Regions from separate parts of the Homo sapiens genome. Here regions 2, 3, 4, 5 and 6 are each linked to region 1. Evidence: promoter capture Hi-C in 16 types of primary human blood cells and fetal thymus (Javierre and others, 2016). All regions are on one chromosome and are shown on one strand. Each heading gives the region's core, a stretch centred on a gene start or on the middle of the fragment in contact. The rest is flanking DNA. Distances are from core to core; before and after follow the strand shown.

Region 1 (3,060 bases), core at 561-3,060:
GGGCAACAGAGTGAGACCCTGTCTCAATTAGAAACAAAAACAGTTGGCCAGGCGCAGTGGCTTAAGCCTGTAATCCCAGCACTTTGGGAGGCTGAGGCAGGTGGAGGTCAGGAGTTCAAGACCACACTGGCCAACATAGTGAAACCCCATCTCTACCAAAAATACAACACAAAAAAATTTAGCTGGGCATGGTGTCGCACGCCTGTAATCCCAGCTACTTGGGAAGCTGAGGCAGGAGAATTGCTAGAACCAGGAGGTGGAGGTTGCGGTGAGCCGAGATCACGCCATTGCACTCCAGCCTGGGCAAGGGAAAAAAAACAGTCTATTACCTGAAAAAAACAGTTAAATAAATTATGGTATACCCTTACTATAGAATAGTAGCCAGCCATTAGAAAGAATGAAGTAGAGCTATGTTTATAGTGTGCAAGGATCTCATTAAGTAGGGAAAAAGAAAAACCCAAAACAAAAATTTTTTAAAAATGAGCTGAGCAGAACAACTTGTATATTATTATCCTACTTAGGTAAAAATGAATTCCCAACCTATGTAAAAATGTATGTAAATAAATAGAAAGATCTGGAAGAATAAACTTCAAACGAGTAACCTTGGGGAAGAAGGATTGTAATGGTGGCTGATGAAAGAGGATGTACCCTTTTAAAGTGTACAATTCAGTGTTTCTAGTACATTCACAAAGTTGTGCAGCCATCACTATTATCTAATTTCAGACCATTGCATCATTCCACAAAGAAACCTATAGTTCGCAGTCATTCTTCATTCTTCCGTACCCCAGTAAAATTTTAATTAAAATTAAATTTAATTAAAATTAATTAAAAAAATTAAAGAATGATAAGGGAATAACTTAGAACTTCTAGAATGTTTTTTCTAGATTTGCAGGGGGAAGTGGGTAGAATCCAAGAACTTAAGCTCTCTTCTCCAACTATGCATAACCGCAAAAGTATGCCCAACTATACATATGTTTACGATAAAATGACAGAAATAAAAATCCACCACCCTCAAATTCCTTCTGTAACAGAAGTTACCCGTCTAATCACTCAAGAAATCTTATCCCCAGACATTGTGGGCAGAGCGGAGACTGAGGAGGGGAGGCCAGAAAGTGATGGGCGGAGGTGGGCAGGAGGGTACTCGACGGGGTAGGTGGAAAATACAGCGGTACAGCCTGTTTTCCATAGACAGTCTACCTCTCTAACCTTCATTAAACAAGTAGGCTAGATTAAAGAAATAACTCCTCTAGCTCAAGGAATTTGCCCTCTAGTACATTAACCCCTTGTTGCTGTAAGTGTAGCCTAGGGACCAGCAGCATTGGTGCCATCTGGACATGTATTAGAAACGCAGATTATCAGACCCTACTCCTCAATCAGAATTTGCACTTTCACAAGATCCTAGGGATTCGTATGTATATTAAAGTTTGAGAAAAAACGCTTTCCTGCACGCTCCAAGGGCACTTCACCACAGTAACCCCTAAAAAGCCTCAGTCCTGGGTCCCCCAGTCCAGTGCCTGGTAGGGCAGGAAGGGGGCGGGGCTAGGAAATGGGCGGGGCCCTGGACCAATGAGGAGCAGAGTCCCAGCCGCCTGCTCCCTTCAGCTGCCCCCTCCACCTTCACTGCACATTTGGCTAGGATATACAGGGCTACCTGTCCTCCTTTTCCGGCAGAAGCCATCTCTACGGTTCCTGGAACTTGGCCCGTTCAGCCCTGGGCCCGGAAGCTCGTTCTGACTGACAAGTCTACGGAACCTCGGAGTCAAAAGAACCGCCATAAGCTCGCGCGCTGGCTCCTCCCCTGGCACCATAGCCCCGCCCCACCTGACACCCGGGGCGGAGAGAAGTACTGGCTCCGCCTCTTCCGAACCGGCAGGAAGTGACGTCATGCCCCCGGCCGGCAGGTCTTTTAGTCTTTTTCCCCCTCCCTTACTCTTCGTCCCCGGTCCCTCCCCTCCCCACCCCTTTCCTTCTAGCTCCGACGTTTGCGGCCGCGGGGGCGGCGGAGGATATGGAGTAAAGCCAGAGTCAGTGGCCAGGCACGAAGGCAGAGCAGGAACAGCCAGGAGGCGTTTATTAGGGGGGCGGGGGGAAAGAGCCCCAGCACCGCCCCTCCTGGAAGAAGGAAGAGGTAAGTGACCGGCCGCCGGCACCGACCGACCTCCCTCACCGGCGGCTCTCTCGCCTGGGCTCCCGGAGCCGGCGAGGAGGGAATGGAGGACTCGCGCCCGGGTTAGGCCTCCCAGGGCCGCTCAGGCTGGTGGGTGTTGCCTGGTGACGGGCCTGCCGGCGGCCGGCCGGGCGATCGGCGGTCGGCGCCCGCGCAAAGCGGGGCTGGACGAGCAGCGAGCTCCGGGGAGCGGATCCGAGAGGGCCGAGTCCTCGAAAGAGGCCTTGAGGCGACGGGAGACCCGGGATCGAAGTCAGCTGCCGGAGGGAGAGCCCCCCATGCCGGCTCGAGAGCTCGGGTTTCGGTGGTGGAGAACGTAGTACCTTTCGGGGACATTGGACACTACTCTAGGACCGGGTGAGAGAGTTCACCTCAGTTCTGAGGTCCGGAATCCGGTAGCCTGGGTCACCAGCCAGGGCCCTGCCGCCCGCCGTCCTTCTCTGACAGTAGCTTTAGTTCTGGAATGGAAGGTTATTGTGTGTGAGGTGGGTGGGGCAGGGGTTTTGTTAAGAGAAAAAACCCCACGGTTACTCCTGCAGTCTTGTTTTTCTAAACGGGAGAATACGGATGGAGGAGGGTTTAGACCGATAAAGCTTGCAAAAACTTATTGGACTTTGAGCACATACCTGTGATCCGTAATTAAGGAGGCCATATTATCAAATCCACCCTCTAAGGCACTCGAGGAGGCTCCAGACAAGCTGCTTAAAAGCGCTATGCCTGTAGTGACTTCATTGGAAGGTGTCAACTATTTTTTAGTACGTCAAACTCAGGAATTATTTGTGATGACACTTTCTAAAAACATTGGATACTATGAGTGAGTTTTCTAAGTAGCCTATCTCCGTTCTGAAAAATAAATAGTTTAGCAAAAATGCTCCAAATCAGCCTGCCACTGT
Region 2 (2,768 bases), core at 269-2,768, 4.8 Mb after region 1:
ACTTCAGGCTTCTTGACTTCCTATATTTACTGTAATTATTTTCTGAGTGCTTAACATGTATCAGGGACTGTGGAATGTGGGAATAAATCATGGTCCCTGATACCAAAGAGCTGATGGTCTGTATTAGGCTGAATAACAGGTGCCCAAAGATGTTCATGTCCTAATCCCTACACCCTGTGAATATGTTACTTTACATGTTTAAAAGGACTTTGCAGATATGATTAAGGTAAGGATTTTTGAGATAAGGAGATTATCCTGGATTATCTGTGTGAGCTTGATGTAATCACAAGGGTCATTATAAGAGGAAGGCAGGTGAATCAGTCAATAGTAGGAAATGTGATGGGAGAAACAAGAGGTTCAAGTAATGCACAGAAGATGAGAAAGGCAAAGAAATAGATTCTTAGTGTCCAAGAGGAATCAGCCCTACTAACACCTTTACTTTAGCCCAGTGAGACTGATTTTGGCATTCTGACCTCTAGAACTAGAAGATAATAAATTTGTACTCTTTTAACCACTAAGTTGGTGACAATTTGCTACAGCAGCAATAGGAAACTAATACATAACTTAATAGTGAAGATAATTATGTCAATAGATAACTTTGAAGTGGTAAATACCATGGAAGCACAGGGCCGAAGCACTTGGTCCAACCAGGAATTCAGGGAATTAGATATAACGGTAATCTAGGCTGGGCGCAGTGGCTCACTCCTGTAATCCCAACATTTTGGGTGGCCGAGGTGGGCGGATCACCTGAGGTCAGGAGTTCAAGACCAGCCTGACCAACATGGCAAAACCCCGTCTCTACTAAAAATACATATAGTGGTAATCTATATGATTCCACAATCACTGATAACCAACCAGTACAAGGATTTTAGGATCCCTTAAATAAAAGGGCAGATTGGAAGAAGCCTTGAGTTACATGCTATGAAGCATAAATTCCATACCATAGGCAATGGGAAGGATCTAAAAGGGCATGACCTGATCAGATAGGTTTCGAGAAGCTTCACACAGAGAATGTGGACAGTGGAGAGAGAAGACCTGTCACACATCTATAGTGGTTGTTCAAGTGAGGGATTACTTTGTAAATAAATACATGAATTAACATATTAGGAATTTTTTAAACAGATACACGCAGGATTCTGTGACAAACTACTAAGTGAAATGTCTCTAGTGAGTTATTGCCATAGAATTTCTATTGTAGGAAGAAGATTTTATTTATTTTAGATTGTATTTATTTATTTTAAACTTTTATTTTAGGTTTAGGGGTACATGTAAAGGTTTGTTACATAGGTAAACTCATGTCACGGGGGTTTGTGGTACAGATTATTTCATCACCCAGGTATTAAGCCCTGTACCCAATAGTTATCTTTTCTGCTCCTCTCTCCACTCCCACCCTCCACTCTCAGTTAGCCTCCAGTGTCTGTTGTTTCCTTCTTTGTGTTAATGAGCTTTCCTCATTTAGCTCCCACTTATAAATGAGAACATGTGGTATTTGGTTTTCTGTTCCTGTGCTAAGTTTGCCAAGGATAACAGCCCCAGCTCCATCCATGTTCCTGCAAAAGCTATGATCTCGTTCTTTTTCTTGGCTGCATAGTATTCCATGGTATATATGTACCACATTTTAAAAATCCAATCTGTCATTCAGGAGCATTTAGGTTGACTCCATGTTTTTGCTATTGTGAATAGTGCTGCAATGGGAAGATACATTCCCATGCATGTATCTTCATGGTATAATGATTTACATTTCTCTGGGTAAAAATCCAGTAATGGGATTGCTGGGGTGAATAGCAGTTGGAAGAAGACTTTTAATGTAAGTTAATAAACAAATTCACCAAGAACTTAGCTATATAACATATATGTAAAATATTTTGGTATGGAATAAACTAGAACTTAAGGTGTGGGTATATGGGGCTGTAAGTTAAAGGCACAGATTCCTAGGAACTGGCAGGCAGGCACCTTCTGTAGGCAGCTGTTCTAAAGTTCACAGAAGCTCTCAGAATAGCACAATATTGCCCATATGAAAAGTTTCTCCTTCTATTTCCAAGCTTGCTTTTCAGAAAGTACCGTGTGAATGAAGAGTAGTAGAATGAAGAATATGTGATTACTTAAAATAATGATTTGCCTTCTGCAGACTACGTCTAAGAACAATAGGACATTTTTATAAATAACTTTCAGATAGCACTTTTCATTTAGTGAATGTGCTTTTCTATTTGGTATCTAATTTGTAATTCTCTAACAAAATTTGAAATTATAGGCTGTGAAATTTGATTTAAACATATTTAAGATCAAGACAGAAAATCCCTGAGTTTTTTTTTTTTTTTTGAGATGGAGTCTTGCTCTGTTGCCCAGGCTGGAGTGTAGTGGCTCAGACGACTTTCCTGCCTCAGCCTCCAGAGTAGCTGGGACTATAGGCAGGCACCACCATGCCCATCTAATTTTTATATTTTTAGTAGGGACAGGGTTTCACCACGTTGCCCAGGCTGGTCTCAAACTCCTGACCTCAAGTGATCCACCCACCTTGGCCTCCCAAAGTACTGGGATTACAGGCATGAGCCACCACACTGGGACTTGTGAGATCTGGGACTTCTGAGATCTTTTTAAGATAAATCTATATTGATTCATAATAGCAACCTGGTACAGTATGTGGTTGGTATTGTTCTATGTACCTTATATGTATTAACTAATTTAGTCCTCGTAAGAATCCCACAAGGTGTTTACTAGTTTTATTTTATTTTCATTTTATAGATGAGGAAATTGAGGCAGAGGTTAAA
Region 3 (3,060 bases), core at 301-2,800, 4.4 Mb before region 1:
TTTTTTTTTTTTTTTTTTTAGTGCCTTTATCTTTGTTTCTTTAGAGCTCAGAACAGTGAGTGATGTAGGTAGTCAGTGTATCTTAAGTGAATAGTCAGTGTTTTGTTTTGATGGGTTAAAGGTGAAATTGGCTAACTGGATATTTAAATTTCCCTGGTACTCTCAACAAATAAAAGTGAAAATTATGTACTAAAATAATAAGGAGTCAAAAGTTTTCTTCATTTGCATACCACAAAATATTGGTGATTCGGTAGAAGAGAGTTGGTGGTGGGAGGAAAAATAATTAATTAGATCCTTTTTTGTTCTTTGTGCAGAGTTTACCCCTCAATCCCAAACCTTTCCTCAATGGACTAACAGGAAAGCCAGTGATGGTGAAACTTAAGTGGGGAATGGAGTACAAGGGCTATCTGGTATCTGTAGATGGCTACATGAACATGCAGGTAAGCTAAAGAGCTGTAAAGGTCATAACATTGCATTTATTTTGCTTCACCTTATTTCTCAAAGGTTTAGTCTGACTAATAAGAATACATACAATTAAATTGACAAATATACGGCAAAATTCAAAAATAAAGTCAAAGCCAGGAGGGATACTGTGATATACTAGGTACAAGACATGGACTTAAACCAGAATTCAGCTACAGATTTTATTCCTAGTAGTTAAAGTAGGAAGAGCTCAGACACTTGATTCATAATAATACCATAAGGGAAACACACTACTTTGCTGGAGAAAACAAAACATTTCTCATCATTTAGCCCTGAAAGAAAGTTTTCAAGTGAAATTATTGAGTCTTTTAATGAATGCTAAAGGCACAACACCAAAGCTATTGAGGAAATTCATTCCTTCAGGGGAAAGACAGATCTGCCAAAGGAATTGAACTGACTGTATGTCTGTCAAACGAGTTTCTGTAAATGATTCAGCCATGTGTTTTGGTGGGTTTTTTTGTAATTAATTATCTTTTTATTGTGGTAAAATATACATTACAATTTTGCCACTCTAACCATTTTTAAGTGTATAATTCAGTGGCATTAAGTACCTTCACATTGTTCTGCAGCCATCACCGTTGTCCATTTCTGGAACTTGTTTACCATCCAAAAGTGAAATTTTTTGCCCATTAAACAATAATTTTCCATTAAACAATAATTTTACAATTAAACATTAAACAATAATTTTCCATTCCTTCCTCCACCTAACTAACCCCTGGTAACCACTAGTCTACATGTCTATGAATTTGACCGTGCATAATACCTCATGTAAGTGGAATTGTGTATTATCCTTTTGTGTCTGGCTTGTTTGACTTAACGTAGTGTATTATTCAAGGTTCATCCATGTTGTAGCATGTGTCAGAATTTCCTTTTTATGACTGAATAATATTCCATTATATGGATATACCACATTCTAATCCATTTGCCTCTTGGTGGACACTGGGTTGCTTCCCTCTTTGGACTGTAGTAAATAATGCTGCTGTGAACATGGGTATACGAATGTCTGTTCCAGTCACTGCTTTCAGCTCTTTGGGGTATATACCCAGAAGTGGAATTACTGGATTACTGGTAATTCTATGTTTAATTTTTTAAGGAGGCCAAGCGTGGTGGCTCATGCCTGTAATCCCAGCACTTTGGGAGGCTGAGGCAGCAGATTGCTTGAGCCCAGGAGTTTGAGACCAGCCTGGGCAACATAGTGAAACTGCATCTCTACAAAAAAAATACAAAAACTAGCTAGGCATGATGGTGTGGGCAGCTATATTCCCAGCTACTCAGGAAGCTGAGTTGGGAGGATTACCTGAGCCTGGGGAGGTTGAAGCTGCAGTGAGCTGTGATCACTGCACTCTAGCCTGGATGACAGAGAAATTTTTTTTTTTCTTTTGAGTAACTGTCACACTATTTTCCACAGCAGCTACGTGGTTTTACATACCCACCAGCAATGCACAACGGTTCCAGTTTCTCCACATCCTCACCAACACTTGTTATTTTCTATGGGTGTTTATAAAATAGTTATTCTAATGGGTGTGAAGTGGTATCTTATTGTGGTTTTGATTTGCATTTGGCTAATGATGTTGAGCACCTTTTCATGTGTTTATTGGCCATTTGTTTATCTTTGGAGAAATGCCTGTTCATGTCTTTTGCACATTTAAAAAATTAGTTTGGGATTTTTTGTTGTTTTTTTAATGGTAGTAGTTTCCAGGCAGGTTTTTAAAGGCTATCAAGACAGGTGGTCAATCCAATCATGAATCCAAGGATTCCATACTTGTAAGCAGAGTACTAAAAGGAGTACTTAAGTAGGCAGAGAGCTATGATTTTCCTTAACTTAGGCAATTACCACCTGAGCACATGACATTAAGGCCCCCAAAGCATAGTTTGAGTGTGGAAAATTCCTTAAACAGGAGTCATTTACCAAGACCATAGAAAAATCTGGGAAGTATATGAATTGTGATGAAAATATTCTGGAAGTAGTGGTGATAGTTGCACAGGTTTTTGAATATACTGAAAACCACTGAATTGTACACTTTAAAAGGGTGAATTTTATGCTATGGAAATTAACATCTCAATAATAAAAGAATTACCACTTAATATTTGTTTTAGAATTAATATAGCTTGCTAGTGACCCTGCTAGAGTTGCAAAATGTCTGAGTAACCAACCACTTTGAGTAGTCAACCATATTGATACCAGTGTTTGAATTTGTTCACTCAGCAAATATTTATTGAATTCCATTATGTGCCTGGCACTGTGAATATAGCATTGAACAAAACAAAGTCCCTGCCCTCAACAGTTTATGGTTTAGTGGTGGGAGGTGGTAATATAATGTGATAATAGGCATGATAGATGCCATCCATGAAGAAAAGGGGGAAGACAGTATGTGCAATATTATATAGAGTAGCCTCTCTGAGGAGGCGAATTCTGGAAGATACCAGAATTAGTGTACAACTCAGTTGAGTATCTGGGGAAAAGCATCCCAGTTTGAGGGAACAGCAAGTACAAAGGCCCTGTGGCAGAAGCATGCTTGGTGTGTTCAAGGCACAGCAAAAAGGCCAGAGCAGATTGAGTTAAGGGACGAATGACAG
Region 4 (3,060 bases), core at 350-2,849, 4.2 Mb before region 1:
CTGAAATCTGACCTGGCTACATGTGAGGCCAAGAACCAGCCATTTCCCAGCTGCCCCTGGGTACTTTCTTTTGGGGGTACCTCATTTGTTATCCTTACTCTAAATTAGTAGAAGATACGGTTTATATCTTATTTAAAATAATAGGGTTACTCCTTCATATTCTAGTACCTCTCTAGTCTCTTCATAGTCTAGTACCTAGTTCTGAATAGCTATTCAGAATAGCTAACTTGTTTTAAAAACTTGATTTGAGTATCTTGTGTTTATAACACATGCTTATATAGATGAATTAACTGGGTCATTTCCCAGTGGAACATATTCTGTTTTCTATATTGGCTAAACTTTCCAAATCTGTTCAGAATCAGAAGTGTCATAGTGACAACTATTTTTTGTGAAACGTTTTGATATCCCCTGTGTCTGTTATAGCTCTTGGCCCTACCCTTTCCTATAATACTTACTGTACTGCATTATAATGATTTCTTTTTCCATTAGACTAAGGGTTCTAAAACAGAGAATGTTACTTAGGTCTGTATTCCCAGGGTTTAGCACTCTGCCTCAAAAACACTAGGTGTCAATTAATGCATGAAGCAGGTCCTAGACCAAGAGAAAACAAAAAATGCAATGTTTAAGCTGTATTATCTCAAGTCCTAAGTCTCAACTATCATTTGCAAACTACTTTTTAAAATTCCCCTTCAAATTTCAGCGATGTTATTTTTAAAAAATAGTCAAAAACTGTAATAAGAAAGAAAAATAAAGAAAACTGGATTGTTGACAAGTTGGATTTAGTACTTTTTAAGAAACGTGTTAAGCATCAACAGCTCTACTAATTATAGGATATAATTTATATGTTTCACAGTATCCTCTTTGAACAATACCCTCCATCCCCCTAAAAAGCAGTTGTACTTCTCAGTAGCTGGTCAGTTGACATGGAATAGGTATCTGATTCCTTTTTTGCACAGGCTGGTAGGAAGCTCCATGTCAACCCTGTGGCCCACTTCTTTTAAAGTATAGAGGGCTTTATGCCATGGGTTTTGTTTCTCCTATCCCTATTCTCTCTTCCTGCAAATTATTTAATTATTTTTAATCTTATACTATATATGTTGCTTCAAGCAGTCTCAGTCCTTTCTAGAACAAAGCAGAGTTTTTTTAAAAAAAGCTTTATGCCTCATTATGATGTCTAAATTTACATTTTCTACTTGCTATGTGCAGGGATATGATGAAAAAAAATAGGTTTATGTGTGAAACACAAAGCTAAAACTAAAAAACCACCTTGATTTGATTCCCAGTTGAGACATTTACTTAGTGAAAACAAGATGGTTTGCAGTCAGAATTACCTATTGTTAACTGCTGGCTTCTGCCTTGGCCATGGCACTAAAACCTCTTGAGCCACTAACCAAAAGAACACCTAAACATTTCTGAAGGTTTCAGTGAAAAGAAACAAATGTATGAAAGTTATCATAAATTTGGAGGATCAAACTTCAGTGTAAATAACCCAAAACTTGAAAAGAATTTTAGAAAGCTTAGAATTTGTCCGATTAAGTCTCCTTCAGCATTCCTCAACATCACAAACTCTAAGAACGGAGAGGAAAAGAAGACATGACGTCTCTCCTGATTCCGCACTGGCACTGGGTCTTCCCATCTCACCTCTGAAATACAGCTGGCACTATTATCAATGTAGCCCATGTTAAGCTTAGGCACTGTTTTCTAATTGAAATCATCCATTAATCAAACTTTTGAATGTCCTCTACATGCCAGACATAGACTATACTAGGAAGCTGAGATACAAAGAGTTATGAAACACAGTCTCTACATTCAAGAGTCCACAATCTAGTGGAGGAAAGAAACAAGTTAACTTTAAATAAATACTAATTAACTAATTAATAAGGATAAGCTCCTGGTCTAAGGCTTTTGTCATAAATAAGCAAACAATTATAAACATGTTATTTTGTACCATAAATTGCCTTCCTTGTATAACATGTAACATTATTATAATTCCAGGCTCTAATTTGCTAAACAGACATGCCAACCAGAAATCACTATTTTAAAATCTTACTTTTCTCTAGATTTGGGGAATGTAAAAACAATGAGCAGATTTTTAGATTGGGACATTCTTTTCAAAATTTAAACATCCTGACTCTTGCTTACTTATAGAACAGAGATAAAGTTTTTATTCTACAAAAGTGATGAGAACACATGGATACACAGTGGGGAACACACACTGGGGCTTACTGGAGGGTGGAGGGTAGGAGAAGGGAAAGGATCAGGAAAAGTAACTAATGGGTACTAGGCTTAATACCTGGGTGACAAAATAATCTGTACAACAAACCCTCATGACACAAGTTTACCTATGTAACAAACCTGCACATTTGAAGTACACCTGAACTTCAAATAATAAATTTTTTAAGTTTTTATTTTACAAAACAAAGGTAAGTGTGAGGTCACATTAAGCAGCAAAAAGCTATAAAAATTTTCATTCTTTTACTTTTATCAGCATAGTTTATAATTTAATTTTTTTAAATAAAGGTGAAGAACAAGAACTTTCCAGTTAACTAAGAGCTTTGAGTGGGTTTGGGGCTTAGTCAAGGTTTTATTATATCTTAAACCAATTGGAATATTTCTTCTGAAATATATGTTGCAGCTAAAGATTCAAGGAAGAATTTGCTGTTCATATATTAGAAAAACCTCTTTAAATTTCTTCCACTAGCGACCTCGGTTTTGGTTTGCAATTATTCACATCTGAACACAAGTGTCCTGAATTGCTTAATTTTTAAATCTCTAGTACTTTTGAATGTAGGACGTATAAACTCATGTTCAAATATGGCAGTCTCACAGTGTGGTTTTTCTTTTTTTATTATTATACTTTAAGTTCTGGGGTACATGTGCAGAACGTGCAGGTTTGTTACATAAGTATACACATGCCATGGTGGTTTGCTGCACCCATCAACCCGTCAGCTACATTAGGTATTTCTCCTAATGCTATCCCTCCCCTAGGCCCCTACCCCCAACAGGCCCTGGTGTGTGATGTTCCCCTCCCTGTGTCCATGTGTTCTCATTGTTCAACTC
Region 5 (3,060 bases), core at 404-2,903, 3.9 Mb after region 1:
AACGAGAAATGTTATTTTTTAAAGAGTGTCTTTGAAAAAATAAGCCCTCAGAACACTTAAAACATGGGAGCTATATTTATGTATTTTGCTTGGAATGGGAGAGGGGGGTGTGGGCAGGGAGTCATACCACACCACACTCACTCACCCAAATAGTTGATTCAGTATATATTTAGACTCAGTACATTAAAGAAAAACACTGTCACCTCATATGGTGTATATTTTCTTAAGGGCAGGTTGATATATGTAAAAGCTCAAGGGAATGCATACATCTGTTTAATGTTTTAAGAAATGCAAATTTGTATCCAAGAAAAGCAGTAGTCCCTTCCTCCACCCTCCATTCTTTGGCATCAACAACCAGAGTTTTGCATCAATATACAGTAATCCTTAAATTAAGATACAAGAGCAATGCAGGGAAGGAATAATTTGCCTTTTAAGGAATTTTGGTTAAACTTTCAATACTTTACAAATAAACCCCCCACTGATTAGTGCCACTGATATTGATCCGTTTGCTTTCATCACTTTATGTTGCTGATTAGTTTCCATACTAAGAGAGATGAAACCACCCCAGTGATTTGTAGCACGAACCACGCAACTATGGGGTCCATGCGGGTTAGTGGGATGCCATTTTTTTAAAGGTCGCAGGCTACCTAACCTTGTTTAAATTATCCTGTTAGAGTGCTTTGGGCGAGATTACGATTTGTGGGTGCTCTGTAATTCTTTGTTCTCTAAGACTACCGTTCTTTAAGGCCCTGCATATCCTCCCGCCTCCCACCACTAATGATTAAAACCTTAGTCCAATCCGAAGGGCTTCCTTCCCACCTTCGGGGCAAGTACAGGGACCGCAAACCGCCAGATGGCTGCATTCTTTACGCGCAAACCAGGCTGCGGGGAAGCTAAAGCCATGCCTTCCTCCCCACGCAGGTGCCTGGGTGGCCCCGGCCCCACGGCCTGGTCCCGGCGACCTGTCAGCCCTGCGAGTGCCAGGAGGCCGCCCCCAGAGCGCATCCCCTGACTCGCCCGGCCGCCCCGGCCCCGCGCCCAACGCCTGCCTCCCACCCGCCGCGCGGCCCCCGGGATGTGCGGGCAGACAAAGCGCCGGGCCCCGCCACAGCCCCGCGGGCGGGAGGAGGGCGCCCCCGGGGACTCGCGCCGCCGCCGGGGCTACGGGGCCAGGGCCCGGGCCGCGTCTCCCGCCCCTCGGCCGGCTCCCCGCACAAAATGGAGCCGGCCCGGGACGCCGTCGAGAGCGGGGCCCCGACGCAGCCCCGCGGCCCCTCCTCGGCCCCGGGCCCGGAGCTCAACGGCGGCGAGGGTGAGGTGGCCTGGCCCGCGTCCCGCCGCTCCTCAGCCCGGCGCACAAAGAGCCGCGCCGCGGCCCCGCGCCCGCTCCCCGGCCCGGCCCGCTGCGGGAGCGGCCTCGCAGGCGCGGGGCCCGGCCTCGGCCCGCGCGGGAGGGCGGGAGGCTAGTGCCCCCGGCCGCGGCGGCGTTGGCGGCGGGGACGGCGCCGGGAGGAGACGGACATTTCATTCGAGCTAAAGTGGAGTCGGTTTAGGAGCGATCATTGGCCGAAGCGAGACACAAACCTCCAATGCAGCCCTGGTTGGCTCCCGTCTCCAATCGGCTGTTTGGTTGGACAGAAAATGGCTGCGAAGGAACCAGTCCCAGCGCGGAGCTCCGCTTCCAGGACTCGGCCTCCCCTCCCTCCGCCGCGGGCCGCTTCCCTCGGCGCGACACCCTCCCTCCGCGCCGCCCGCGCGCCCGCCCGCCGCGGCCCCGCCCCGCCCCGCCCCGCCCCCGGCCCCGCCCCGCCCCCGGCCCAGTCCCGCGTTCCTGTGAGGCCTCCGCGCCGCTCCGGATGCCGCTCCTCTAGGCGCGAGGTCTTCCAGGGCCCTGCCCGGGCGCGCCGTTCGGGTCTAGGCGGGCCTCCTTCCCGGTGCTGACCCGGGCCTGTGCGAAGCGGGATCTCTCGGGCGTCCCTCTCTTTGTCACCCCTTCCCCCGCCACGTGGAGGTGCCTCAGCCGCCTGAGCTCAGCCTGCCTGCGCCTGGATTTTTAAGAAGGGGAAACCAAGGACAGAAGCCGCCCCCTAGGACGACGCGCCCGAGCCACCGGGAGGGTCTGAACGGCGGGGGCCTCCTGGAGCGCCTTCAGCGCCTCGTGTTTTCTTTCCTTGGGTCCCTGTTAGCGTCGCCGCATGCACAGCGCTCCCTGTCATTTGGTCCCTGAGCTTGGGTGTTTTTCACATTTCATCTAAAGATGCAGACCCCTGCTAAGTCTAGCCAGCCTTCACCCTGAATCTTGAACTTAAGATGCTGCATTTTCCACCCACCCCCACCCCTCTAGTAGCTGCAGATTGACAAGCGGCTTTTCCCAACCAGATGACATTTTGGCTGCAAGAATCCGTGGCCCGTTCTTGCCTCTGTGCAGCCAAGCTCCTTCGCTGTCTTTCTCAAACTGCAGTCCTGAGTTCAGCTTCGCTTAGCAGTGACCATCCCAGAGGTGGGTAATCCAACACTGGATCCACTCACTGCAACCGGAGCTGGGGATGGCATGCCCTCTGCTTCCACTAACCGAGTGGCCTGCACCACATTAAACTCTCCAGCTTTGATTATGTAAAAATACAGAGATCTTTTATTTATAGAGTTCCTACTGTTTCTCAGAGTATTTAAACATTTCTGCGGCAAGTATGGAAGAAAAGACAAATGAAAGCCCCAAATTGTGACAAGAGGAGTAAGTAGCAATGCCACTGTCATCAGACAACCTGACTTGAATTCCAACTCCCCTTCTTACAGGCTTGTGATCTTGGCCAAATGTCTGCTTCTCAGGGTTGTTTGGGATAATGTATACATAGAAAGCCCTTTAAAAAAAAAAAGTTATCCCAGCACTTTGGGAGGCCGAAGCAGGCCGATCACCTGAGGTCAGGAGTTCGAGACCAGCCTGACCAACATGGCGAAACCCCGTCTCTACTAAAAATACAAAAATTAGCCGGGCGTGGTGGTGGGCGCCTGTAATCCCAACTACTCAGGAGGCTGAGGCAGGAGAATCGCTTGAACCCGGGA
Region 6 (3,060 bases), core at 271-2,770, 3.4 Mb before region 1:
TCCGTCTCAAAAAAAAAAAAAAAAAATTCAGATATTAGGAAGTGCTATGAAAAAAATGAAATCAGGTATTGGGATATAGGGTAAACTGCTAAGTCCCTTACCAGGTAAGGAAGGGACTGCGTTAGCCAGGGTGGTCAGGAAAGGCCTTTCATAGGAGGAAACATTTGAGCTAAGACCTGAATGATGAGAAGGAGATGACCATGGGAATCTGGGGAGAACATCTTAGGCACAGGGAGCAGCAAATGAAAAGACACTGAGGTGAGAATGACTTTGCCTTTGCATGAGGCAGAGAGAAGGCCAGTGAAAAGAAAGAGGAGAGTTACATGGGGGCCAGGACATGTAAGGCAGGCTAAGGAGGCTGGATTTCATTATCATTACTGTGAGGAGCCATTGGAAGGGTCAGCTAAGAGAATGCGACCTGGCTTATGTTTTAGGAAAATCACTTCAACTGCTTTGGTGACTGCACTGTTTGGAACAAAAATGAATGAGTTAGAGCCACTTGTTTTAGATTAGATTTTGACCTTTTTTTGAGTATGTCTATTCTTAAATGTTTTTAAAATACATTGTTTTAAACTATTTGTAGGCGCAGTCATGCAGGAAAACCTCAGATTTGCTTCATCAGGAGATGATATTAAAATATGGGATGCTTCATCTATGACATTGGTGGATAAATTCAACCCACACACATCACCACATGGAATCAGCTCAATATGTTGGAGCAGCAATAGTATCCTTTAAAAAAAAAAAACACACACACACACACACAAACCGCTTATTAGGTTAAACAACCACTGTCAATGAAACTTTTGCATGTGCCTCATACTGAGTAATGTGTTTTGCATTGCTACCAAGGATAGATAACGTAAAATAGTAATTTACAAAACAATATATCATATGAATGCACTCTGATTTTATCTGTTGCGTTCATTTAAAAAAAATTTAGTTACAACCCACTTCATTTGAAAACACTGCTATTAAAAAAAGTATATTCTGTCTACACCATAGAATTAGTTATCAAAAATTTCTTATTGAACCAAATGGAATAAGGTTGGTAGTTGTGGAAATAATTCCAAAAGGTTTTGGAATGAGTTTTTGCATCTACATTTGGGTATTTGTGGATCTGAACTGAAAATTAAAGACAGAACTTGAAGGCAGAAGCAAGTTGGGGAGGAGATAAAAAATTGCCCAATATCTCCATCTTACTAATGTACTCTCCATATCTTCCTTCCTCTCTGTGTGTGTGATGAAAATTACATTTCCTAAACAGACATAGTAAAGTTACCTAGATTGAACTTTTCTAAGCTTTTTATGTTTCTGATTGACACCTTCCCTGTCTTGGTGAGCTCCTCAATGTGGATAAAATAAAATGAGGGAGTGAAGACTGTAAACTAGGGTTTCTGAACCCTGTGCTATTGACTTTTTGGGGCAGAAAATTTGTTGTGGACCTTTCCTGTATGTTGTACCACGTGGAGGTTTATTGGTCTTCACCCGTTAGGTACCAATAGCCTCTAGTTGTGACAACCCAAAACGTTTCCAGAATTGCCTGAATCACTCCCAGTAGAGAACCACTGCTGTGACCACAGTGCTCCTATCACCTTTTATGTGAAAATGTTTTATGTAATTGGTATGTTAGAAATTTTCTTTTGTGAAACTCATACGCTATTTCTTAACAAATTAAGATTTAACATTTATCTGATTTTTATCAACACCAAAGTATTCTACTTTCTGATAAAAAAATCAAAGCTTTAAAATGTGACTGGTTCAGGAACAAAAATATTAAAAGTTTTATATGACTTACTATTCTTGCATGTATATAACAAGAAGGACAAATTTTCTTACTGAATTAAATTTACCTCCTTATCATTCCTTGATTTTGCAGTAAAACAAATTACTTTGGTACTCTGTTAATCAAACTCATGGTGAAGTGACTACATTTTTGAAGGACTTTCCAGATGTGTAATAGGGAAAATATTTTAAAGAGAGCGACAAGTATATGAAGTTGCTGTTCTCTATTTTTAGATTTTCATTATGTTTAGAGCTTAATTTTCCCTCTTACTATATAAGAGAAAGGTAGCAATTTGTAGTAAGATTATTTTTTGGTTGACTTTTGTTTTAAGTTTTACTAGGAGTTGGCATTTACTGATGTGCTACTTAATAGTCTAACAACAAAACTGATGTAGCTATGAGATAGTGTTGTATGACTTTTGGAAATTGGTCTTACAGTTTTCTTGCATGAGCAGATGTGCACTGAAAGCCTTCATACAGTCTTATTCTTAATAAGGCTTTGATCACTTCCATGGAGGTTAATTACTGAAGAACAAGGAGTTCCCAGCCTTAGCAACTTGGGGTCCACATAGTATAGATTCCAAGAATGGGGTTAATGTGAGACACCAGAGAGATTAGTTTTTTGTTTCTTGTCCTTTAACTTACGTTCCTCACTTTCTCATGATTTCTAAAACTACAAGAGAAATAAAAAAGAACTAGATTACCCACCCACATTATGTTTCAGTCCTTTTTTTTCTATATTCTAAGGAGAAAAGTAGTGGTAAACAGGAAGAAGTCAAGGAAAGGGAAATGGTTTTTCTCGCTATGGTAATATCTAGGTAGGAATGATTTGATTTGCATCATGTATCATAATAAAATTACAGTCTATGCTCTGTTTACAAAATACCTGAAAGTTATACAGAACATTCAAAAGTTAATGCAGTTAGGGATTCTGAGTGTCTAATTAACCTTTCTCCATTGCTTTTACTCACAGATTTTAATTGCTAAAAAGCACAGATTTAAACTTCTGATATTTTAATTTGTTATGGCTCTCAAAATCAGACTCTTATTCTTAGTTATATTATTGTATTTAATCATTTTAGTTTTAAAATAGTTACTGTTTTGTGTTTACTGATTGTTCCATTTACAATTCGTGTAAAAGAAGGTAAATAAAATTACATTTTATTTAAAAATTAAAACTCATAACACAATTCCTATTTAACCATACATATTTATAAAATATTTGCAAGTTACTGTAATAGTCATTCTTAATTTAAGATTGAAACATTCTATCAC

The links. Contacts are between HindIII fragments. The CHiCAGO score rates a contact against its expected background, and 5 or more counts as called.
Region 2: a contact is called between a fragment that was not itself captured here and the fragment with the promoter of DEPDC4 in region 1, in 1 of 17 cell types (neutrophils). The highest score is 5.2, in neutrophils.
Region 3: a fragment that was not itself captured here is called in contact with the fragment with the promoter of DEPDC4 in region 1 in 1 of 17 cell types (non-activated CD4 T cells); the score reaches 5.8 in non-activated CD4 T cells.
Region 4: a contact is called between a fragment that was not itself captured here and the fragment with the promoter of DEPDC4 in region 1, in 1 of 17 cell types (total CD4 T cells). The highest score is 6.7, in total CD4 T cells.
Region 5: the fragment with the promoter of NFYB here is called in contact with the fragment with the promoter of DEPDC4 in region 1 in 1 of 17 cell types (neutrophils); the score reaches 7.3 in neutrophils.
Region 6: a contact is called between a fragment that was not itself captured here and the fragment with the promoter of DEPDC4 in region 1, in 1 of 17 cell types (fetal thymus). The highest score is 5.9, in fetal thymus.

Annotation. Positions count from the first base shown.
Region 1 is chr12:100,265,269-100,268,328 of GRCh38, forward strand. It overlaps DEPDC4 (DEP domain containing 4), which reads right to left and starts at 1,811. Exons shown (of 10, transcript NM_001364818.2): 1 at 1,652-1,811. The coding sequence starts at 1,808. It overlaps SCYL2 (SCY1 like pseudokinase 2), which reads left to right and starts at 1,909. Exons shown (of 18, transcript NM_017988.6): 1 at 1,909-2,524. RefSeq lists enhancers at 1,654-1,733, 2,404-2,473, 2,484-2,543 and silencers at 2,104-2,153, 2,254-2,333. The HindIII fragment of the contact is 4,398 bases long and covers 1-2,758 here.
Region 2 is chr12:105,103,389-105,106,156 of GRCh38, forward strand. All of the region lies in intron 1 of LOC414300 (a long non-coding RNA gene), which reads right to left. Among named protein-coding and RNA genes, the nearest start is that of WASHC4, 3.0 kb to the right of the region's middle. The HindIII fragment of the contact is 1,044 bases long and covers 997-2,040 here.
Region 3 is chr12:95,860,854-95,863,913 of GRCh38, forward strand. SNRPF (small nuclear ribonucleoprotein polypeptide F) reads left to right here. Exons shown (of 4, transcript NM_003095.5): 2 at 315-440. Among named protein-coding and RNA genes, the nearest start is that of SNRPF, 3.4 kb to the left of the region's middle. The HindIII fragment of the contact is 5,419 bases long and covers 1-3,060 here.
Region 4 is chr12:96,030,722-96,033,781 of GRCh38, forward strand. All of the region lies in intron 1 of LTA4H (leukotriene A4 hydrolase), which reads right to left. Among named protein-coding and RNA genes, the nearest start is that of LTA4H, 3.3 kb to the right of the region's middle. RefSeq lists an enhancer at 2,161-2,330. The HindIII fragment of the contact is 170 bases long and covers 1,515-1,684 here.
Region 5 is chr12:104,136,557-104,139,616 of GRCh38, forward strand. It overlaps NFYB (nuclear transcription factor Y subunit beta), which reads right to left and starts at 1,654. Exons shown (of 8, transcript NM_006166.4): 1 at 1,585-1,654. RefSeq lists enhancers at 213-806, 807-1,398, 2,222-2,391 and silencers at 1,018-1,147, 1,208-1,287, 1,388-1,487, 1,538-1,837. The HindIII fragment of the contact is 8,431 bases long and covers 1-3,060 here.
Region 6 is chr12:96,909,169-96,912,228 of GRCh38, forward strand. It overlaps NEDD1 (NEDD1 gamma-tubulin ring complex targeting factor), which reads left to right. Exons shown (of 16, transcript NM_152905.4): 3 at 584-727. The coding sequence starts at 592. Among named protein-coding and RNA genes, the nearest start is that of NEDD1, 3.4 kb to the left of the region's middle. The HindIII fragment of the contact is 441 bases long and covers 1,301-1,741 here.